Linked DNA regions of Homo sapiens: all the other regions are linked to region 1. Evidence: promoter capture Hi-C in 16 types of primary human blood cells and fetal thymus (Javierre and others, 2016). All regions are on one chromosome and are shown on one strand. The core of a region is centred on a gene start or on the middle of the fragment in contact, and the rest is flanking DNA. Distances in the headings are between cores, read along the strand shown. Region 1 holds the start of LINC00853 (long intergenic non-protein coding RNA 853). Region 2 holds the start of NSUN4 (NOP2/Sun RNA methyltransferase 4). Region 3 holds the start of FAAH (fatty acid amide hydrolase). Region 4 has its middle 10 kb from the start of LINC01398. Region 5 has its middle 14 kb from the start of TMEM275. Region 6 overlaps TRABD2B (TraB domain containing 2B). Region 7 has its middle 62 kb from the start of LINC01738.

The links. The method cuts DNA at HindIII sites, captures the fragments that hold promoters and counts their contacts. A CHiCAGO score of 5 or more calls a contact.
Region 2: a fragment that was not itself captured here is called in contact with the fragment with the promoter of LINC00853 in region 1 in 1 of 17 cell types (erythroblasts); the score reaches 6.4 in erythroblasts.
Region 3: a contact is called between the fragment with the promoter of FAAH here and the fragment with the promoter of LINC00853 in region 1, in 2 of 17 cell types (endothelial precursors and total CD4 T cells). The highest score is 7.5, in endothelial precursors.
Region 4: a contact is called between a fragment that was not itself captured here and the fragment with the promoter of LINC00853 in region 1, in 1 of 17 cell types (erythroblasts). The highest score is 6.2, in erythroblasts.
Region 5: a fragment that was not itself captured here is called in contact with the fragment with the promoter of LINC00853 in region 1 in 1 of 17 cell types (erythroblasts); the score reaches 6.6 in erythroblasts.
Region 6: a contact is called between a fragment that was not itself captured here and the fragment with the promoter of LINC00853 in region 1, in 2 of 17 cell types (activated CD4 T cells and naive CD4 T cells). The highest score is 5.6, in activated CD4 T cells.
Region 7: a contact is called between a fragment that was not itself captured here and the fragment with the promoter of LINC00853 in region 1, in 9 of 17 cell types (naive B cells, naive CD4 T cells, total B cells and 6 more). The highest score is 11.1, in naive B cells.

What each region holds. Positions count from the first base shown.
Region 1 is chr1:47,177,548-47,180,666 of GRCh38, forward strand. LINC00853 (long intergenic non-protein coding RNA 853) reads left to right here and starts at 1,703. Exons shown (of 2, transcript NR_047498.1): 1 at 1,703-1,891; 2 at 2,321-2,792. CYP4A22-AS1 (CYP4A22 antisense RNA 1) reads right to left here and starts at 2,076. Exons shown (of 6, transcript NR_199717.1): 1 at 1,643-2,076; 2 at 578-902. RefSeq lists an enhancer at 1,574-2,075. The HindIII fragment of the contact is 3,617 bases long and covers 1-2,449 here.
Region 2 is chr1:46,340,804-46,343,922 of GRCh38, forward strand. NSUN4 (NOP2/Sun RNA methyltransferase 4) reads left to right here and starts at 4. Exons shown (of 6, transcript NM_199044.4): 1 at 4-116. The coding sequence starts at 24. RefSeq lists enhancers at 1-74, 1,202-1,291. The HindIII fragment of the contact is 4,077 bases long and covers 1-3,119 here.
Region 3 is chr1:46,392,784-46,395,902 of GRCh38, forward strand. It overlaps FAAH (fatty acid amide hydrolase), which reads left to right and starts at 1,534. Exons shown (of 15, transcript NM_001441.3): 1 at 1,534-1,760. The coding sequence starts at 1,566. RefSeq lists an enhancer at 1,422-1,935. The HindIII fragment of the contact is 1,150 bases long and covers 1,307-2,456 here.
Region 4 is chr1:46,437,775-46,440,893 of GRCh38, forward strand. It overlaps the pseudogene FAAHP1. Among named protein-coding and RNA genes, the nearest start is that of LINC01398, 10 kb to the right of the region's middle. The HindIII fragment of the contact is 3,272 bases long and covers 1-3,119 here.
Region 5 is chr1:46,519,487-46,522,605 of GRCh38, forward strand. No RefSeq gene overlaps it. Among named protein-coding and RNA genes, the nearest start is that of TMEM275, 14 kb to the right of the region's middle. RefSeq lists a cis regulatory region at 2,690-3,119 and an enhancer at 2,734-3,119. The HindIII fragment of the contact is 2,873 bases long and covers 95-2,967 here.
Region 6 is chr1:47,767,743-47,770,861 of GRCh38, forward strand. The region is part of intron 6 of TRABD2B (TraB domain containing 2B); the gene reads right to left. Among named protein-coding and RNA genes, the nearest start is that of LINC01738, 81 kb to the left of the region's middle. The HindIII fragment of the contact is 3,260 bases long and covers 1-3,119 here.
Region 7 is chr1:47,748,566-47,751,684 of GRCh38, forward strand. No RefSeq gene overlaps it. Among named protein-coding and RNA genes, the nearest start is that of LINC01738, 62 kb to the left of the region's middle. The HindIII fragment of the contact is 6,160 bases long and covers 1-3,119 here.

The DNA.
Region 1 (3,119 bases), core at 453-2,952:
ATAGACTAGATAAGGAAAATATGGTACATATATACCATGGAATACTATGCAGACATAAAAAGGAATGAGATCATGTACTTTGCAGGGACATGGATGGAGCTGGAGGCCATTATCCTCAGCAAAGTAACACAGGAACAGAAAACCAAACACTGCATACTCTCACTTAAAAGTGGGATCTTTTAAGTGAACAAAAAAGAGGGGAACAACATACAGTGGGGCCTGTTGGGGCAGGGGTGGGGAGAGCATCAGGATAAATAGCTAATGCATGCTGGGCTTAATATCTAGGTGATGGGTTGACAGTTGCAGCAAACCACCATGTTTTTACCTATGTAACAAACCTGTACATCCTGCACATGTAGCCTGGAACTTAAAATAAAATTAAATTAAAATTAAAAAGAAAACAGCACCACCACCATCAAGGAAAGCCTGTTCCCAACCTCCAATTCCAGCTCACTAGCTCAGCCTGTCTCATTCCCCTTTTTCTCTCTCCCCTCTCCTCCCTGCCCCTTTCCTCACTTTGCCCCCACCTGTCCTCACCATCCCACCCCATACCTCCAAGCTCACAGCTAGAACTGACCAAAGGCCCAGTTATTTATTTACAAAGTCCATGTCCAGAACTGTACCAGCCTCAGCGGTGTGGAATAAACTGGTGTGGCCAGGTCCATTGTGCTGATGCCTCAAGAGATCCAGGCTGGTACAGATGGGTCTGGCACATTCTGTACCTGCCAGCCAAGCAGAGCATCCAGCTTACTTCTCACTCGACTCCTTACATAACGCTCGTCGGGTACTCTCCATTCCTTGGGCTTAAATTCCATAGTGTAATATTAGTAAACCAGGCTAAATGATCCTAAGGATCTTGCTAGCTCTGACGCACCGTGATCTTGCATCCAATTCAGTTCACTCTGTAATAAATAATCATAATAACAATAGTAATTTTCCAAATAGCTAACAGTTATTGTGTACTGTATGCTAAGCACTATTCTATGTATTTCATGTGAATGTTTAACATTCATAACACCACTTATCATGTAGACATCATTTACTGCCCTAATTTACAGTGAACTGGAGCTCCGAGAGTCACGTTGATTTAACCACAGTCCCAGGCTACCAAGTGTCCAAGCTGTGCTGCTTCCAAGCTGCCTGACCCAGACCTGAGCTCTTAACCTCTCAATGGGCATCCAGGTCGAAAGCAGAATCTCTGGCTCAAGTGCCGACTGCCCAGCTGTTTCAGAACTCCACCATGCACCCAACTGCTCCTCCAGGACTTCCCTACGGATGTGTTGCAGGCTCTGAAACGTCACACATCCACGCCGCATCCTCATCCCACACATGCTCCTGCTTGTCCCTGGCATCTGCCATTCTCAGTGCCATTCACTAGCCTATATGATGCCTTCGAATCAGAGGAAGTTACCTCTCCCTCCAGGGATACGGGCCCACACCTGGTCTCAGGGACCCTTTAGTGGAGGCACAGTCTATATAGCCCAGAGCAGTGCCCCTGATGCCATCGTCTTCCAATTTGCTCAGAGCAGACACTGGGATTCATCCTTAATATCTCTCTCTTCTCTCTCTCTCTCTCTCTCTCTCTCTCGCGGAGGCCCCACTGCCCTTGCATTCCACAGGAAGTCCCAGTTGCTGGCATGACCTGAGAGGTTCCTGGGACCACGCCATGGAAATGCGTCCGGTCCCAGTGTGACGGGGAAGAGCCGCGCCTGAAGCTCAACTTCCGAGGCTCTCATCAATCTACGCTTCCTTTGGAGCGTGCAGCCACCAGGTGGCAGCCGAGGCCACGGGCAGACAGAAAAGCTCCCGAAACTGAAGGACTGCCAGGCAGCAGAGTTCCGGAGGGCTCCCAGGACCTTCAACCAGAAAGAGACAGAGCATATGCGCATATGTATGTCTGAGCCCGTGCACGGAGGAGGAGTATGAACAGACACCGCGGGACAGATGGCTGGAGTTTAGTCCCTTCCTTCGGGGCTCTTCACCACTCCTTGGGCTTCCCTTCTCCTGTCCAGCCCTGTCCTGGGTGCACAGAGAGGGAAGTCACTCCATTCCTGCCCTTGAGGAGCTCCCAGACCCAGGGCAGGAGCAGGATGCAGACAAGTAGACAGCACCCTGGGGTGGGTGGAGTGAGTGGGGCAGGTGGGGCGGGTGCAAAGAGAGGGAGGAGCAGGGGCTGAAGTTGCCCGGAGGAAGTGCTGAACCCAGGAGTGGGGAAAGGAGCATCTGGGAAGAAATGGCATCTACGCTGATCATGGAGGGCTTTCTGGCAAGTCTCAGGAGCAATAATAACACGGATGTCATCTCTGTTTCCTCCCAGCAGCCCTGCAAGGAATGTACTATAGAGCCAATTTTACCGGCAAAGGAATGGAAGATCTGAAAGGCTAGGCGATCCCACAAGCATCGAGGAGCAGGCTGGAATTTGAACCAATCGGCATGATTCCCAAGCTCAAGCTTTTGGCCACCCCTGCACTGCCAGGGACAAAAAAAAAAAAAAAAAAAAACCCTGGGAGGAGAGCCAAGCTAGGGAGTCAAGACCCTCCAGCCAGGTCTGGATGGGAGGCAGGTGCCTCCACCCTGGTCCCAGAGCAAGTTCTGCTGGCTTCAGCCACCTGACTTCCCTGTGAAGGTGGGTAGAGGCCAGAGCAGACTGTGTGTGATTCTGGCCCCAGCCCCAGCACCTCTACCCCCACCTTTACTACCCCTAGGCTGCGGGAAGAGGCTTTGCCCAGCAATAGTCCTGATCTAATGGATCCTTGAAGCACAATAAACAGATAGTATTTCTGCATGTGTCACTCTGAGTATGACGGCAGTAATCTTGAAACTCCCCTTGACCACCTGGCACTCTGGAGACGGAACTCCACAGCCTGTTTTCAAAGCCAACTCCTGGCTGGAAGTTCCTCTTCAAGTCTAAATGAAGTAAGCAGTGCTGCAGTCTTCCCTCAACTGTGCAGTTGCTGGGTGGAGGCTTTTCTTTTCTGCCTGAGTTTGGGTATAACCTATAATGTAACCCTATGAAACTTACATGTTTTAGGTGGGAGAGGGGAAAACAAGGTGCAAGCCCTGTTCCAGGAAGAGCAAAAATGTCCTCAACAGTAAGAGGACATTCTGGGCTGAGAGCC
Region 2 (3,119 bases), core at 362-2,861, 840 kb before region 1:
ATTACCCCGTGGAGCACGCCGATATGGCTGCGCTGACACTGAGGGGTGTCCGGGAGCTGCTGAAGCGTGTGGACCTCGCGACGGTCCCGCGGAGACATCGATATAAGAAGAAATGGGTAAGGTCCGGCTGGGGGCGCAGGAGGGAAAAGTGAGGGTGGAAACTTCTCCAGTCTTTCCGTTTCCCGGCCCTCTAGAACGCCTAGCGTCTTTCCCAAGCACTCCACGGAACGTCCTTAGGCACCTCCCTCTCTCGTCTTTTCCGTCACCGCCTCTGTCCGCACTCTATGTCCCGAGCGTTAGTGTCTTCCACTTGTTACGTCTGCAGTCTCCTGACTCCGCCCAAGTTGCGTCATCACCTTCGCCTTCATTCTTTTAGTGATGTCACTGTCTCTTGTTCCCCAGCTGTGTCCACCTACCTTTCTGTCCCCCACTCCCCCTTTTACTTCCCTCCCTCCCCTCCCCCTTTCCCTTGCCCATTCTTCCCCCACATGACTTCTCCTTTCCTCATTGATTTTCCAGCCCGGTCGCCCTCACCCCTCGGAAAATACCATAGCGACCTTGCCTGCACTCCTGGGTCTCCGCCGCCTTGCAGGAAAGGATTCAGCCCCTTCCTCAACCTCGAGCTGCCTCTGGCGACCGGGCAAGGTTACAGCGACCACCCTGTCCATACTGCCGGCCCAAACCCTGGCAAAAGGTGCAACGAATCCTCTCATCCTCTGGACTCTCCTTGCTTCTCCAGAGACCCTTTTTCTTGCCTCACTGGAAGCCCTGGAATTTCTTCTATGACCGGCACGCCCCCCTGCCCACCCCAGCCGATTCCCTCGCCACCTCCACCATCTCTTCCACCCCCACAACCTTCCTCGCACTCAGGGAGATGGTCTTTTGAGTCCTCTTCCCCACTCCTGGAAAGGACCTACTGCCGCTAGCCCTGCCACTCGGGTTCCCCACTCTCCAGCCCTTATTTTGAGCAGTTCAGCATTCCGGGGTCACCCCCTCTCTGTCAGCGGACACCTTATTGCAGCTGGATGAGTCCCTCCAGAATGCGGCGTCCCTGTCTTCAAGGCACGTACTGTGACCAGCACACTAATCTCTGTTACTCTAGCGGATGGCCTTCAGCTTTTGGAACCAGCCCGGCAACCTCCTTTCCCCTTGCTCATCAGTCCCCGGGAACGAGCCCAGTGACCTCCCCTCAGCTCACTCATGTACCCTTGGAAACTGGACCCATGATTTCGCCTCCTCCTACACATAGGACCCCGGGAACTTGCCTCACGATTTCACCTCCTCTTGCTCGCCGGCCGGTGGAAACTAGTCCTATGGCCTCCCCAACCCTTTCTCACAGAGTTTTGGAAACTGGGCTGATGATCTCTCTGCCCTCTCACTGGTTCTCAGGGAGAAGTTATAATGACCCCCTTCTCTCCCCAGCATCTTCCCCACCTACTGGCAGCTTTTACCATGGCAGCCTTAAGCCTCTAGACTCTTGTGAACCCAAACCACAGCTTGACCTGCCCCTTGAGAAAAATTGTTGTGGCTTCCCACTCTCTTCTCAGGCAGGCATGCCTGGCTCTCCCAGCTCACCTCAGGAGGGCTCTTATCATTACTCCCATCTTTCCTCAGAGGCCTACATACCTACCCCTGGGAGTCCTTGCTATGCCATCTGCCTGTGCCCCGGGAGTACTGATTCTCCTTGCTCACCCCAGTCCCAGGCTCCCAGGAAGGCTTGCATTGAGTCCCTTCTCTCCTGGGAGGCAACTGGGAACTCTTACCTCATCCTAACCCCGGACACCACAACTTCTGGTCCCCCCTGTTCCCAGGAACCATCTCGTCCCCATGGTCCTCATTCTGTCCTTTCCTTCCCTTCACCCCTGGGCAACCAGTTTATATCTCCACCCCAGTCACTTCCCCGCAGAAGCTATAATGAACCCCCTCTTCCCACTCCAGTTTCCCCCCAACCGAAGTCCCCTAAGTCCCCAGAGTTAAGACAGTCACATACTCCCCACAAATGTCTCTCCCTAGTCAACACTCCCCAGCACACCCCTTCTGGCCAGCCCAAGCCCGCTAAGGCCCACACCTGTCCCCCACCTCCCTCCTGCCTCTCTGGTCCTTCTTGTATGCAGCCATACATCACAACTCCTTCAAATTCCAGCCCCAAAGAACTTCCCCCAGGGACTACCTTACTGACTGTGGTCCCTAGAGCTCTCAAAAGTGTTATCCCCACTTCTTTTCCCCTCTGCCTTCCTTGTGATCCTGTCTCGGCCAATAGTTATGCTCAGAGCAGCCGCCATGGACCCTCCATAGGGCCCCCCTGCAATACCCATATATGCTCTGTGGTTCCCTCCACCCCCCATCCCTGCCCACTGTCTGGCTCCCTCAATCATTCGACAGGCCCCCCTCCCATTGTGCCCCTGTGTGACACCTATAGCACTCCCAGGGGCCCACCCCAACCTCGTTGTCAGCCTGTGATGCCTCCTTGTTCTACCCACATCTATTCTTTTATCCCTTTGAGAACACCCTTTGATCCTCAAAGTTTACCCATTGTCCCCCGAGTCCGGGCCTACCCTGATACTGTCCCCTGTGGCCTCCATATCTACCCTGTGGCCTCTCAAGGCCCTTGCAAAGAGCCTCTGCAGATCCCCTACAGCTGCCCTTTGCCTTCATCCAAGGATTCCAGCTGTAGCACCAATCCCAGCTGTAGTTCGACTATTATTAGCAAATGCCAGAGTAGTGACAGCGAGAGCAGGAGTTCCCACCAAAGCCAAAGCCGGAGCCAAAGCAAGAGTCCCCATGATGGCAGAAGTCAGAGCTGGAGCAAGAGGCATCATCTGAGCAGAAGTCCAAGTCAGAAAAGCAGTCCCTATCCTAGCAGAAGCTGGGGCCGGAGCAGTAATCCTCAACAAAACACAAGTCAGGGCCAGAGTGAGAGTCCCCAACTTAGCATAAATGAGCACCAGGGTGAGAGTCCCCAAATTAGCAGAGGTCAGGGCAAGAGCAAGAGTCTATGATGGCAAAAGTCGGAACCGGAGCAAGAGTCCCCAACATGGCAAAGGTCAAGGCCAGAGCAAGAGTCCCCAACATAGCAGGAGCCAGAGCAAGAGTCCCAGCGAGGCAAAAGTCACAGAGCA
Region 3 (3,119 bases), core at 284-2,783, 780 kb before region 1:
CCCCTGAAATTTGTGGAAGGCTCAACACCTCAAACCAGGGGGTATCTTGCCTTGCCTGACCTGGAAGGCTCAACCCCTCAAACCAGGGGGTGTTTTGCCTTGCTGCCCTGGAAGGCTCAATCCCTCAAACTAGGAGGTGTCTTGCCTTGCTTCCCTGGAAGGTTGACCTGTTTCCTCCCTTTCCCCCTCTGAAGGTCCTTTGCACACTTCCCACTCGTGTTGTCCTCTCTGGCTGCTCCCCCAAGGGAGAATTAGGCCCCCCTCAGCATTGGCATTCCAGTAGAAATCCCACCGCAGGATCCTCCCTAAGCCATATGAGGTAGCTACGGAAACGTGGAGAGGACCCACTCACTCCGTCCAGCAGTAGGACTTGTCATCATCCACACGAACAACACCACAGGTAGGGTTGTTTGTGATCATTCACGCACACACACATTTAGCCCTCCAGAATTTGACCACCAAGGAAGTACCTTACCGGCTCCCTCGGCTTCTTCCTTTGTCTGTGCACAGAGTTGTCTCTGCAGTGTGTGAGGATGCTTTACCCTAGGTTGCCTGCTGGTTTCTTTTCACATTGCTGAGAGCTCAGGTTATTTCTTGCACTGGGTGAGTCCTGATTTCTCACCCCTGAGGCCATCACAAGAGGGTGGGGCATACCTCCTCAGGAGAGAGAACCAGAGACTGCCCCTGAAGGGGAATGTAATCACGAGCAAGCCCCCAAATTGTTATAAATAAAGTTTCCCCCCAGTGCCGCAAAAGAAATAGCACTCGAATATAAAATTTTCTTTTTTTTCTTCTCAGCAAGGCAATTTACTTCTATAGAAGGGTGCGCCCTCACAGACGGAGCAAAGGTGAGCGCACACCTGGACAAGGGAGGGGAAGGTGGTTCTTATGCCTGACCCACGTGATTCCTGATGCTGTGTCCTTCCCCTGTTGGCTAGGGTTAGACCTATAGGCTAAACTAATTCCGATTGGCTAATTTAAAGACAGTGAGGGGGTGAGTGGTTTGGCGGGAAAAATGGTTACCGCAGAGCAGGAAATCGGAATGAACCACGGTGAAGAATGAGTGAGGGAGGAGCAGGTAATCGAAAAATGTTGCTTTATGAGGAAGTTAAGTTTAAAAGTAGAAGGCAAAGAATTGAAGATACTGACATATTGATTCTTTTAAGATAAATTTAGAACTCATATCTAACAGCTGGCATGTCTGGCATGGGGCTCCGGCTGGGGCGCAGTCTTCAGCATTTGGGGCTCTGGGGTGCAGGGGGCAGAGGACGGCCGGGGCTGTGGTGCCCAACCGGTGCTAAACTCAAGCTTGGGAGGTCGCCCACGAGAAACAGTCGCCCTTCCCCACCCGCCTGCTCGGCTTGGCGGGGAGCGGGATGTCGCTGGGGGCGATGCCAGGCGGGCCGCCTCTGATAGCCTCTAGGCTCTGGCGCGCTTCCCCGCCCCTCCCGCGCAGGCGGGCGTGGGATCCCGGCTGATCCAGTCCGGGTTTTGCGGCGGAGCGGGCGGGCTGCGCGTGCGGCGGCTTCAACTGTCGCGGTAGGCAGCAGCAGGCTGAAGGGATCATGGTGCAGTACGAGCTGTGGGCCGCGCTGCCTGGCGCCTCCGGGGTCGCCCTGGCCTGCTGCTTCGTGGCGGCGGCCGTGGCCCTGCGCTGGTCCGGGCGCCGGACGGCGCGGGGCGCGGTGGTCCGGGCGCGACAGAGGCAGCGAGCGGGCCTGGAGAACATGGACAGGGCGGCGCAGCGCTTCCGGCTCCAGGTGACTGCCGGAGCGTAGTGGGATGGGCGCGGCCTGAGGGTACTCGCAGCGGCACTTTCAGCCGCCGGACCCGCCGAGGGACAGGGGATGGGGCGGGCAGAGCAGATGTGTAACTCTCCAGAATCTCTCCTTGCCCTAAGATATTCCGCACTTTCTGAGCCAGGTAGAGCACGGGGGAAGAAAGGAAACGGTAGTGTCAAGGCAGGTGGTGGAAGGCCTTTCCCTCACTGGGTCAAAGAGGAGTTTTGCTTTGTGCCAAAGAATCTCACGATTGCTGCCTATTGGAATGCGAAAACGCAAGCGTGACAACCAGTGGGATGCCAGGGGTTGAGGACTTTGGAATCGCAGAGTGTAATGGCCAAGGGGATCTGGAGAGCTTAGAGTTTTGTTTTTTGTTTTTTTTTGTTTTGTTTTGAGACGGAGTCTCGCTCTGACTCCCAGGCAAGAGTGCAGTGGTGCGATCTCGGCTCACTGCAACCTCCGCCTCCCGGGTGCAAGCGATTCTTGCTGCCTCAGCATCCCCAGTAGCTGGGATTACAGGGGCCCGCCACTACGCCTGGCTAATTTTTGCATTTTTAGTAGAGACTGGGTTTCACCATGTTGGCCAGGCTGATCTCAAACGCCTGACCTCAGTTGATACACCTGCCTCGGCCTCCCAAAGTGCTGGGCGTGAGCCACCGCGCCTGGCTGAGTTCAAGCTTCTTGATTTGTGCATTTGGATCCTAAGAGGGAGCCAGAAAGAAACCTGCCAAGTGCACAGGGAGATCTTGGCAAAGCCAGGCTAGAAGGGAAGTCTCTCTGGCTCCTGCTGTGGTGTCCAACCCCTGGCAAGCCCTTTCCATGAGCAGGTTTAGTTCCAGCCCTCCGTGGGTGGTCTGTCAACAAGCTTTTCTCCCTGCGCTGCCTTTGGATCACCTCAGTATGTGGGTTTGGAGGCGTGGAAGGGCCTGGCTGAGGGTTTGGAAGATGTGGCTTGAAGAGGGGCTTTTCCTCTGGGTGTGTGAAACACTGACCCCAGTTAAAGCCTTCTTATGTGCTGAGAGAGGGAGGGCTTGCTGTATCTGTGGGACCTGACAGGTGGGAAGGCTTTACAGGTTGGGAACCGCAGGACTCAGGAGGGTGTGCCTGGGTGGGAGACAGAAAGAGTCACAGAAAATTGTGTTCAGCAGATGTTCCGCAAGTGATTTTTGAGTTGGGGCAGAGCTGGAACTAGAACCTAGGTGCCCGCTGCACTCTGCAGCCACACTTTCGTGGAGAGGAACAGGAGAGAGATATGAGGAAGGCACCTTGCATGCCAGCCCAGGGTGTAGCCCTGCATGTTGAAGGGGGCCAGCCCCTCCACACCTGTGGGTATTTCTC
Region 4 (3,119 bases), core at 313-2,812, 740 kb before region 1:
TTGCCTCCATCAAGTGGCCGTAAGGAGCTTTCTGTCTCCAAAATCCCTACCTTAGCCCTACCCCAAACTCCCCTGCCCCCAGTGGCTTGTCCTGGCCTCACTTCCCCTTTGAGATTCTACCATGTGATCTTGGGCTAGCCTTTTAACCTCTCTGGGCTTGTTTTCTACCCAATGCGGTGGCTGTGAAGATTAAATGTGGTTCCATAGATAAAGCACTTGGCACGCTGGCTGGATCACAGTGAAGCATGAAGGAAATGAGGGCTGCTCTCGTTCTGTTCTGTCACATCTGTGTGTGAGGGTGAGGGAGTGGGGTGGCAGGAGAGCAACCAGTGACACAGGCCTCCCATGCCATGCTGAGGCGCTGAGGTGGACGGAGATGCACGAGATGATGTGGCATCCTTCTTGAAATCTTGGGGGATGCAGAGACAGAGAACCAGGCAGGGTCGGGGAAGCTCCAGACACTGACTCTGCCTCTGCCTCCCCAGGTTATCCCCTTCTCCATCCCCCAGGCAGAATACGCCATCAAAGACTTGTACACGGGGGGATGTTTACTGATGGAGGGGCCACTCTTCTAGAGAAGCTATACGTTATCTGCTGGGACTCAGGGGTGGGGCATGGTGGAAACAAGGTAGGGGAGTGGGCTGGAGCCAACCTGAGTCCCAGGAGGGAAACTGGGGGCCTGGGCTGGGGTGCCTCTGCCTAATAGTGTGACCTTATGCCGCAAACCACACACTGGGCCTGTCTTTAGGATGCACCTGTTCCGGGGGTGGGGCAGAAGTACATCTTTGGGTTTGGCCTCCTTCTTGTCTACGGCGTGGAAGTTGGGTGGCTGTGGGGGCAGGCCACTGGCTAAGGGCTGTGACTTACCCATCTGCGACTGGTTCCTCAGAGAGGGGGACATTGTGGATCCCAGCATAAAGGGCATGGTCAACCAGCTCTGCCTGCCAGACCCCTTCAAATGTTTCTTGGCCTGGATCCCAAAGTACATAGTAAGTGCAGGCCCTAGTCAGGGAGGGCTTTGGAAGGGCAGGGAGCACAGGGAGTAGGAGGGGCTCAGAAAGCAGAGGGAGCTCACAGAAGGAGTGGAAGTGGGGTCAGAGAGGAGGATGAGGCCCAGAGAATGGTGGTAGCTCAGAGAGGGGTTCAAAATGGGGAAGAAGAATGAAGGGCTGGGTGCACAGTGGCTCATGTATGTAATCCCAGCACTTTGGGAGGCCAAGGTAGGAAGATCACTTGAGCCCAGGAGTCTGAGACCAGCCTGGGCAACATAGTGAGACTCCATTCTCTAAAAAGAATGGAAAAAAAAATAGCTGGGCATGGTGGTGCATGCCTGTGGTCCCAGCTACTCAGGAGGCTGAGGTGGGAGTATCACTTGAGCCCAGAAGATCAAGGCTGCAGTGAGCTGAGATTATGCACTGCACTCCAGCTTGGGTGACAAGTAAGACTCTGACTCAAAAAAAATAAAAAAAAATTAATTAAAACAAATAATGAAAGAAGGGGATGGGGCTAAAAGAGTAGGGTGCTCACAGAGAGGGGAGGGGGTTTCAGAGAGGAGGCTCAGAAAGGGGGAAGGGCATTTGGAGGGCTACAGGGCCAGTGTGAGCTCAGGGCTTGGTGAAGTGGTGTAGGCTTGTTGAGGATCGGAGGGTTCCACGTCAGTGCGTTGAGCAATGCTACCCTTCTTGGACCCCCTCCTGGGCAGGCTGACTGTTTCCCTGTGGGTTCTGAAGTTGGACTCCCCCTCTCAGCCCCCCTCTAGGATCCCCAAACTAGCCAGCATCTTGAAGAGATTCGTGGAGTGGGGTGAGTCTCCCTAGGGCCAGCTCTTGCTCCAATGGTTGTCCATGGGATGGTGGGAATTGAGGAGGGGCATGAGGCTAGAGCTGGTATCCACTAAGGGGGGATCTATTTAGATTTCGGACTCTAATTAGGGTTTTAGGATCATGCCTGACATTAGCTTAGATTGAGACTTTTGATTGGTGTTGGGACTTTATTTGGAGTTAAGATCTGAATTAAGGCCGGGTGTGGTGGCTCATGCCTGTAATCCCAGCACTTTGGGAGGCTGAGCGGGGAGGATCACTTGAGGCCAGGGGTTCAAGACCAGCCAGGACAACATGATGAAACCCTGTCCCTACTAAAAATACAAAAATCAGCGGGTGTGGTGGTATGTGTCTTTATCCCAGCTACTCGGGAGGCTGAGGCACGAGAATCACTTGAACCCAGGAGGTGGAGCTTGCAGTGGGCCAAGATGGTGCCACTGCACTCTAGCCTGGGTGATAGAGATAGACTCTGTCTCAAGGGAAAAAAAAATCTGAATTAAGGCTAGGTTGAGGTAAAATTTGGGACTGAAGTTGAGATTAGGTTTTATTTGGGGATGGGCTTAAGACTGAGGCTGGGGTTGGAGTTGGTTTGAGTTGGGGTTGGTGGGGCGAAGATAGATTTGGAAGAGGGTTGGGACTGAGGCTGGAGTTGGGGTGGGGCTAGAGTTAGGGTTAGAGATGAGGTTGGGAGAGGCTGGTATGGGCTTGGGTTTGCTGTTGGGCTTGGCCTGGTGGGGTTGGCATGAAGATGCTGGGCAGAATTGGGCTGGAGTGGACTGAGGGCTAACTGGGTGCCTCACAGATTAGGGTAAGGAGCCTGTGGCCTTTGAGGCAGCCCATGAGTTCCTGTGACTGGTGGAATGGGGGGTAGATTGACCAGAGGATGTGTGCTCTTGGGGACCTTGAGCAGGCAAGATGTCTTGGCCAGGGGACAAGACACGGGGTCACTCCCAGCCCATCAGCTGATTTGCAGCGTGCACTGAGGCCTTGGTTGTCATGTCCCCATTTGTATAAAAGGGTTCCCTCCCATGCTGACCTTTGAACTTGTCAGAGTCTTCCTCATTCTTTCAGGACACCCAAGAAACTGTGGGAACAGCACACAGCAGTGGAGGTAATGCCTGTCTGGGAAGACCTTGAGGGGCTGCTGGAGCTGGGGCTGCAGACACCTGGGTAGTGCCCTGAGTGGTCAGAGTTATGAACTGGCCTGCAGAGAAGGCCCAGCTGGACCTGGGTGGGGGGGCTTGGTGACCTCAGAAGTTATTCTAGTCCATCTCCCTAGAGCATTGTCCCCAAATCCTT
Region 5 (3,119 bases), core at 281-2,780, 660 kb before region 1:
GAGGCTGAGAAGCTGAGCAGTTCTAGGCCCAGCATGCCGTTGGTGCTCAGATAGCCCATGGTGGGGGAAATGGGAAAGGTAGGGGGCTCCCCGAAGCTTCTCTCCAAATTCCCCATGTTCTCTCTTTCTTTTTTTTGAGATGGAGTTTTGCTCTTGTTGCCCAGGCTGGAGTGCAATGGTGCGGTCTTGGCTCACTGCAACCTCCACCTCCCGGGTTCAAGGGATTCTCCTGCCTCAGCCTCCCCAGTTGCTGGGACTACAGGCGCTGACCACCACTCCTGGCTAATTTTTTGTATTTTTAGTAGAGACGGGTTTCACCATGTTGGCCAGGCTGGTCTCAGACTCTTGACCTCAGGTGATCCACCTGCCTTTGCTTCCCAAAGTGCTGGGATTACAGGCGTGAGCCACCGCCTGGCTGAGCCATGGCGCCCGGTAGTTCCCCCTTCTCTTAGGCCTTGGCCAATGTTCTTGCAGCTCAGGGGTCTGGTTCCTTAGGGGCCCTCAGGGAAGGGGCCCCTGCTGAGAGGGTCTGGGGAATGGACCCCTTTAGGGCTGGGCACTTCCCTCATCTCTTTCCCACAGAGCTGCTCTGGGCTGGAGCCCTCCACCCCCATCACTCATTCTCCTTTAGCTTCTGGGAAAGCCGATTAGGAGGTGGCCTTCTACCCGCCCCCCTGACAAGTGTGTCTGAACTTCCAACAAAGGCCCTCAGAGGGTTGCAGAGGGAGGGCTCAGCACTGGGAACCTGACACCACTGGCCAGGGATCACCCCAGCAGCCTAGGAGGCAGCTCTGTGGGGCTGCCCACCCCACGGCAGGCAGGAATGTCGCTCTGAGAGGGGACCTGGTCCCACAAAGGCCTGGGGGCTGGGCTGAGGCAGGCTGGAGAGGTCTTCACCTGGGAGGCCTCACAATAAGGAAGACAGCAAGGGCCAGCACCCAGGAAGGCACGTGGGAATAGGCATACACGCCCCCACACACTGACAGCCTCTCACACACATTCCCCATACATTCACAGCACACACGCACACACGCATCCTCTCACACCCCTGGGACATGTTGACTTCTGCACTGGACCACACAATCCCAGGGTGTCTGTCTCCCTGTCTCTCATGCCTGTGTACACAGCCCCACTGCAAACCGGCAGACACACAGCCACGCTCTGTCGCCTGATGCTCCACACACCCGCTCCACCCCCAGACATGCATTCTTCCCGGCTTGCTCACACTCCAGACAGCCCCTGAATGCTCAGTGGCACCAGCTCCCCTGTACAGACAGCCTCTCGAGCCAAACTGCTGGCCTGGTGCCCACAGAGACTTGGTGGCGGCTGCCCTGTGATTGTGGAAGATGCCACCCAAATGCCCACATAAGAGTCAGACACTGGTCCCAGCTGCCATGTGAACACCCATGTGCACCAACCCACACATCCACCCCAAGGGGCTGCCTTGAGCCCACCTCTTCACAGCATGCTCCCTCCTGCAGCAGCCTCATGGGCGTGTGACCCATGCAGTCACACAGGGCCCTGGGCTCAGAGGGCCCGCAATGTTCTGATGTCACCATCTTGAAATCTTTACATTTTAAGCAAGGGGCCCTGCATTTTCATTTTGCCCTGGACCCCATAAAATATATAGCTGGTCTCACTCCCACCCCATTTCTATTTATTTATGTATTTATTTGAGACAGAGTTTTGCATTTGTTGCCCAGGCTGGAATGAAATGGTGTGATCTTAGCTCACTGCAACCTCTGCCTCCTAGGTTCAAGCAATTCTCCTGCCTCAGCCTCCCAAGCAGCTGGGATTACAGGCGCCTGCCACCACACCTGGCTAATTTTTTTGTATTTTTAGTAGAGACAGGGGGTTTCACTATGTTGGCCAGGCTGGTCTCGAACTCCTGACCTCAGGTGATCCGCCTGCCTCAGCCTCCCCAAGTGCAGGGATTACAGGTGTAAGCCACAGTGCCCAGCCCACCCCATCTCTTTCAGCTAAGTCACTGGCCCTTCTGTGGCTTCAGAAACCCAAGGCCTCCAGAAAGCCCTCTGCTTCTCCCACCTGCCCAAGGGCCACCACTTCCTCTTCCAGCCACGGTTTCCTTCTCCACCCCATTCCTCATCAGGCAACTGAGTGTGAGGGGTGGAGGGAACTACCAAGAGCATCCTATACACACCTCCTCCTAGTGTCACCTTGGGGCTCAGTATTCTCCTTGGTAAAGTGGGGCGAATGATAATGCCTACTTCAGGGTTCTTTGTTAGGAATAAAAGATAACATCTGTAAAACACTTAGCACAATTTTGGCATTTAGTAAATGCTCAATACTTGCTTGTTTTTTTTTTTTAAATTTGTTTTTACTTTTATTATTTGAGATGAGGTCTCACTGTTATGCCCAAGCTGGTCTCTAGCTCCTGAGCTCAAGTGATCCACCCACCTTGGCCTCCCAAAGTGCTGGGATTACAGGCATGAGCCACGACGCCCGGCCAATACTTGCTTGTTATTATTGCACTTATTACATTATGATAAGTGCCACTAAACAAAAGTAGACTCAGTTCCTGGCCCTATATATAGTCTAATGGATAAAATGGAGATTACTCAAATAATCACACATATATCCACGTAAAGGAGCAGGGGTGAATGAGAAGTGCACACGTCTCTGACCTCGAAGGGCTTACGGCTAACAGGAGGGGCAATCTGAGGCTAGATTCAGGATCAATCTAGGGCAAGACACAGCTCGATTAGAGGTCAGAGTTGGAGCTCAGAATGGGCCATGGCAGGACTCAGTTTGGGGCAGGGCCGGCTCAGTCTGTGACTGGTGCCAAGTCAGTCACAGTTTCATTTCTAGCACTGACTCACTGTGGACTATTTAATAAGCTGCTAGGCTTCTGGGAACCTCTGTTTCATCATCTGTAAAATGGGGAGGTCTCTGTCTACCCCCAGGCTTGTGGGAGTTGAGTGCGGTAATAATGGAAGTGAAGGATTAAGCTTCTGTTGCCACCACTAATGACTCCAAGCCCGGCCCCCTGGGGCTCTCCTCCCCCAGCTCCTTCCAGGCCGGGGAGGCTGCGTGGCCCTCACCCATGTCTCCCGCTGCGGGAAACTGCCACCTCAGCCTGGGATCCTTTCCAAGAAGAG
Region 6 (3,119 bases), core at 306-2,805, 590 kb after region 1:
CTGCAGCATGCGTGCCTTCCTGCCACGCTTCCCACTGCTTGCCCCACCTCGACAGGCTGCCCTGGGTCACTCCGGGCTGCATTTCCTCGGGCTGGGCCGTGAGGTCCTAACAGCTGGCCATAATCACAGTGGTGACAGCCTGTAATCACCACCACCAGAACTAAGTCCAGGCCACCGTCCTGGCCAGACGCCTCTCACATAGCCCTGGCTCAGCTTCAGCTAGGCCAGGTGGGCAGGGGAGGGAACCCGGGGCCACCAAGCATATCCTGACTCCACATGGGCTCTTGGCTTGGGAGCAGGTGTCCAAACGGCCTCTGGCACTCTGTCCTGGCTTGACGTATGTCATTAAAGAGAGGGGTCCTCACTCACTGCCCCATCCCTCTCTCCCTTTACTTTCTTCCGGTGATGCTCTGGCCTTCAGCACCCCCTGCAGTTGCATAAGGTTCCTTTCAACCTGGTGTGATGTGCCATGATCTTCTGTCTTTAGAGAGACTCCAAGGAACTATCAGGAGGGGAGGGAGCAAACTCTTGTTCCACCCAGAGGATGCAGGGATGGCGTTTCTGAGTAGAGTGTGTGTGTGTGGAAGTGGGGGGGGAGGGCCAGGTGGCTTCCAATGTCCCTTACACACCCACAGAATCAAGCATGTTGTGCCTCCCACCCCATGCCGGCCTGATCTGGCCTGACTGCCCTCCCCTTTCATGGTTCTCTCAACACATACCACCCTCTCCATCACACCTACAGTCTTGCTGCCATTTTCCTACTCACCTTCGAAGGCCAGACTCAATGCCCTTCCCCTGGAGGGCTTCTTTGATCTGCCTTCCATCCCTCAATGCCACTTGGGGCAGTTAAGGCTTCTCCCAAACCTTGTACATTTCTCATTGACCTCTCTGTGTTGTAGGTCTCCATTTATTATACGTAGTTTGCATGGGTTTCTATATGTAACGTGCTTTGAACAGTGCCTGGCACACAAGAAGTGCTAGAAGAGGTTGGCTATTTTTAGCATCATTATTAATATTTTTGTGTCTGTGTCTCTCCTAATAATAACACCTTCCACTTATAGAGCACTTACAATGTGCTGACATACATTGCTTGGTGCTATACACGTGTTATGTTATTATTATTCCCCTTTCTAAGGTGTGGAAACTGAGCTTGAAGGACTTCAGATTTCTTGCAAGAGACAGTGTCTCCCCAGCCTGAGACAGGCCAAGGAGCCGTCCCTGAATGAACAGATGAGCAAACCCCTGATGGAGAGCCCATGAGCGAAGCGTGGGTGCTTCCGGCTGAGATCTCTCAAACCCGCAGATGGAGGCTTGCCAGGCGGGGACACTGAGGCCTCATCTGGCCTCAGCCCCTGGAGGGGATTAGTGCCTGTGCCGGGCAGGGATCATTACCTCAGCCCCTTTCCTCCCTTTCTTTTCTAATGAAAACAAAAACAAAAATAAAAAAAAAGAAACCCACATACAAAACACAAGAAGTCCATAAAAACGTCCTCCTAGCTGCTGCCCCATCCTTTCAGCCTGAGGAACTGTTGGTTTGGTGGGCTGGCTTCAGGACAGCAGGCTGGTGTGCCCCTTGAGGTGCCCGGAGCTGGGGCCCCCACCATCAGAAGGCGAGACCAAGTAGGAGTTATGAATACTATGTCTCACAAGGTGCCCAAAGGCATTTTCTTTCACACTTTGAAAACCAAAGATGAAAACTCCCGCTTGGAGCCTGAGTGGGCTTTTTATTGCTTGGCAGGAGTCCCAGAGAAATGGGGCAGGACTGGTGGGTGGGGGGTGTGGAGGACAAGCCCCTCCAAATGCCCCCAGCCCACCTCCTGGGCCTGATTCTGCTCACAAAGCTCAGTCCCCCAGTCCAGATCCCCACCCCTTCCTAGGCTCACAATGGGGGAAACTGTCTCATGGCAAAGTGGCCTCAAAGCCAAACCAAACACTGCAAGTGTTCCCAGGCTCCACAGATGGCTGGCACCAAGAGGCCGCATCGGCTCTGAGTCAACAGGGACCCCAAAGTGGGGAAGAGGCCCTCTGCTTGGGCAGAAGGCAGAAGCCTGGCTCTAGCCTGTAGTGCGTTCCTGGCTTGCTGTGTGACTTTGGCAAGTGCTATCCTCTAGACCTCGGTTTCCCCATCAACACAATGAACAGGAACAGACCCGTGGACTTTAAAATGTTTACTAGCAGCAGAAGCCAGAGCGAGATCTTAGGTGGAAGCCCAAGGCAGAAAGCAAGGCTGTGTGTGTCTGAGACACTGTCAGCTGTCTGACCATGAGGCACCTCCAAGGGGCTCCCTGGAGCAGGGGTGGGTCTTGGCACTAGAGGGTCTCTGAGAGCCATCCCAGTCTAGGATCTGGGCATCCCAAGCCTTCTTGCCGGTACAAGGGGCTGGTGGGCTGTACCCTGACTGACCTCCTTAGAGAGCTTTTCAGCCTGAGGAGACCGGATTTGGGGCACACAGGGCCTGGGTCACAGGTGGCCCTCTGCCTGGGGATAGAGATCTCACTGTGATCACTTAGCAGAGACCCTGTTGTGATGCCAGTCTGGGCCTCAGCCTCTCTGGGCCAAGCAGGTCGGATGAGAGATCCAAAGCAACTGGTTTGCCTGCGGCTCTGGGTATCTAGGACTTTGTGATATCTAGGGCTCCTCCCGCCTCCACACCTTTGTCCACATGGTCTTCTGTGCTGGGAATGCCTTCACGCTTTGCTCAGCCTCACTGGGCCATGACTGATCAATTCCATCTTGGGCACAGGGCAGACAGGCTTGTTTTCTAATAGCTTCATAGCAGACCATAGCTGGAAGGGCCTGTCTGTCCCTCAGATGGGAAACTGGGCCCAGAGAGGAAACGGGACTTACCAAGATCACTCAGGAGAGCTGAGGCAGGGTCTCTGGACTGTGGCTCCAGGGCTCTTCAGTGGCACCACACTGGAAGCCATCTGTCCCTGGCCATGACACGAGACTTTTCCTCTTCCTGTCCCTCACTAGCACTAAATGCAGTATGTGCCCAATATGTTCCTGTCAAACTGGGGGAAGTTCACAGCACCCAACCAATGCCTCATTTAAGGGTTTGGCCAAAGGCCCTTTCTGCTAGGGTAGGGGGCTGGTCATCTCAGACCAGAGACTCTGAA
Region 7 (3,119 bases), core at 415-2,914, 570 kb after region 1:
AGGATGTAGGGGATGAGAGGGGAGAGTGATCAGGGTTGACTCCACCATGTCTTGTCTAAGAGACCAAGTAGACAGTGGCACTATTTACTGAGGTGGGTGCTGGAGATCTGGGGGAAGACGTCACAAGTTTGGTTTTGAATATGCTGCCTGGGAGATGCTTTCTGACCTCCAAGTGCAGAGGTCTCAGTGGCAGCTGAGTGTCAGGGGAGAGGTGGTCTGGAGTGTAAGTTTGGGATTCAGCAGAGTATTTAGAACCATGAAATGGGCTAAGGTCACCGGGGGAGTGAGTGTGGACAGAGAAAAGGACTTAGACCAAGGGAGCCATTAAAAAAAAAAAAAAAAAAAGATCTGGCTACCTGTAAATATCATTACATTAGTCAGACTGCCATGTGCTGTAAGAGAGGGCAGGTATTGTAGTGTGATGGGGGTCGGAGGAGGAGGAAGATTCTTTGAAAGATGGAGTTGGGCTCGGGACTGGGGGTGGTTAAGATCTGGACATGGCAACATTTTAGTTTCCAAAAGTCAGGGCTGGGGCTGGGGCTAGGTCAGCCCCTGGCTTAGGGTAGTTGAGAAAGCACAGGTTTAGAGTCTTATGGGTCTTAATTCCCAACCTTGCAGCCACTTCTTAGGTGCGAGTTCTGGAAGAGGTGACTCACCTTCAAAAGCTCAGTGTCCATGTCTATAAAACAGGGTCAGTAGCACTGACCTCACTGGAGAAGTGCATGAGACAATTTATGTACAGTGCCCTGCATGAGAACACCAGAAAAATGAGGCCCTAAGATAATGGATATTAATGGGTATTAATGGATGTTTCATACCAGCCTTTGCATGGGAAATGTGAACTTGAGTGCCAAGTTTGTGAATCAAGATCTTACTTTAAGTCAGAGATATGTCACTTTTGAGAATCTTTCATGGAGAATCCCTTGATAAAATGTACCACCCCATAGTGGTGGGTGCTGGATGCTGACTTGGTTCTCTCTGGGCTCCAGAATCTGGACTCTGATGATCTACCCAGTTAAGTTATATCCACATAACAAAATTTGCAGGCTAAAAAAAAAAACAACTCAGAACTTTCATCTGGGGAGTGTTTGAGCCATACCCTAGAATGAAAATTATACACAGCTTACTATGTACTTAACACAATCATATTTAATTGCTCTGACGTGCCCCATCAGTGGCTTCTGAGATGGGTCTCCAATACCTCCTTACAAATGAACTGGAAAGAATGATTGCCATGGTACCTGAGGGCAGAATCCCAGTGACGGTCTGGTTTGAATTCCTTTTCTCCTTGCCCCGCCTGGTTGCTACTTGTGTGGCCTACTCCAGTGGCCTGGTTTCCAAATGTAGCCCGCTATTGATCCAGTTGGACTCATTGGGGCACCAAGAGAAAATAACTTTAATTTTTTTCCAACTCCCACTGCCCTTTTGACTGGCTATATGGCAGACCACGTCCCCATCCCTGGAGGGCCTCTCATGTAGATTCAATAGCTTTCCTTGTCACTATCAGGGACACTATCTCCTTTTCATCTACAAAAAACTCTCATCTGATCAAAATCAATCTGAATTTTTCACCAAATTCAAAGTGTTTGTTTCCCCTTAGCTCAGGGAAAGCCCAAGCCTCTTGTCCCCTCTGGAGGCTGCTTCTGGCTCCTGCAAGGATGGGTGGGAGGTGAAATGAAAGGAAAGGAGGACATTGGTGCCCTCTGTGTGGAGACATCCAAATGCCAGCTCTTTCCCTGACTAGGGGCTTATATGTGGGTTTTTTCAGAGCCACTGTGCTCTTCCTTGGTGTGGGCAAAGCTCTCCCTGGCTGGTGTCTTCCAACCCCCTTGCAGCTTCTGCTCTGACAGTCCACTCCTCATACCCTGAGGATGGCTGGCTTCAATCTGGCCCATTGGTTGGCTGGTTGGGGAAAGGTGAGAGGGTGGGGGCATATGAGGTTCCAAATCAGTTTTGCTATCCCTCAGCAAGTCCTGCATGAGTGGACTGGCTGCCTTCTTCTGAATGGGAACATACTATCTTCAGCTTTGGAGCCTCAGATGTGACTTCCAGATACCAGGAAAAGTTCCAAGTAATATTCTGTTATATAACATATTAACTTTCTCAACTCAAATGCTCAACTTTTATCTTCAGCATAGAAGAATGGTTAAGTCTGCAGTTCTGGAGTCTGACATTGGCTGGGTGACCATGAGCAAATCATTTAACCGTTCTGGATCTCAGTTTCCTGATCTGTAAAGCAGAGGCAATGGCCTTCACTCTCAAGTATGTTGTTTAGATTGATTTGTTCTTCAGGTGCCAGGTGGCACATAGCAAGCCCTCAATAAACGGAAGCCCTTATTTGTATGTTTCTGAGGAGTCTTCATTTCCTCCAACCTAGACTGGATGTCAGTGCTTCTTGCTAATCCAGGTACCATTCCCTCCTGCCATTTGCCTGGCCTGCATGGCTGTCTTTGATAATAACACTTAGTGTATCTCGAGCATCACTATCTTATTTGCATCTCACAACAACCTTGCAGGATACATATTATCATCATTCCCATTTACAGATAACAAAACTGAGATTCAGGAGGAGGTTGAGTCACTTGCACAGGGGCAAACAGCTTGTAAATAGCAGAACTGGGGTTTGCCCCCAGACCTGTCTGATCTCAGAACCTGCCTGTTCTACCACTCGTTTTATCTCCTTAATTATCTGTCCTGTCTCTTTGTGCCCTCTGCCAAGAGTAACTCTTCTGCACTCTATGGACATAATAGCGGATCCTTTGAATGAAATCACTTCCTGCTTGGAGCGCACCCTGAAAATGGATCCCTCACTGCCCAGTAAAATGATACTTCCTGTGTTACATAATAACAAATTCCCAAAGCAGATTTGTAGAGGTAATATTGACTCCATCCACTTCCTGTGTATGGTTATTCAAGTTATATAAAGTTGCATTCTCATGAAAAGCATCCGGTTACTGTTGGTTCAGTACCTACCTGGTGTCCAATGCTGGATTAGCCAAGAAGGGAAAGGTGTTTTCTGATCTTAAGCCTAGAATCTATTTTGAGTGTAAGACAGGTAAAAAAAATTACTGCCAGTGCCAAGATGTTTGTAGTAAATACCTGTGAGGGGTCACCAGAAG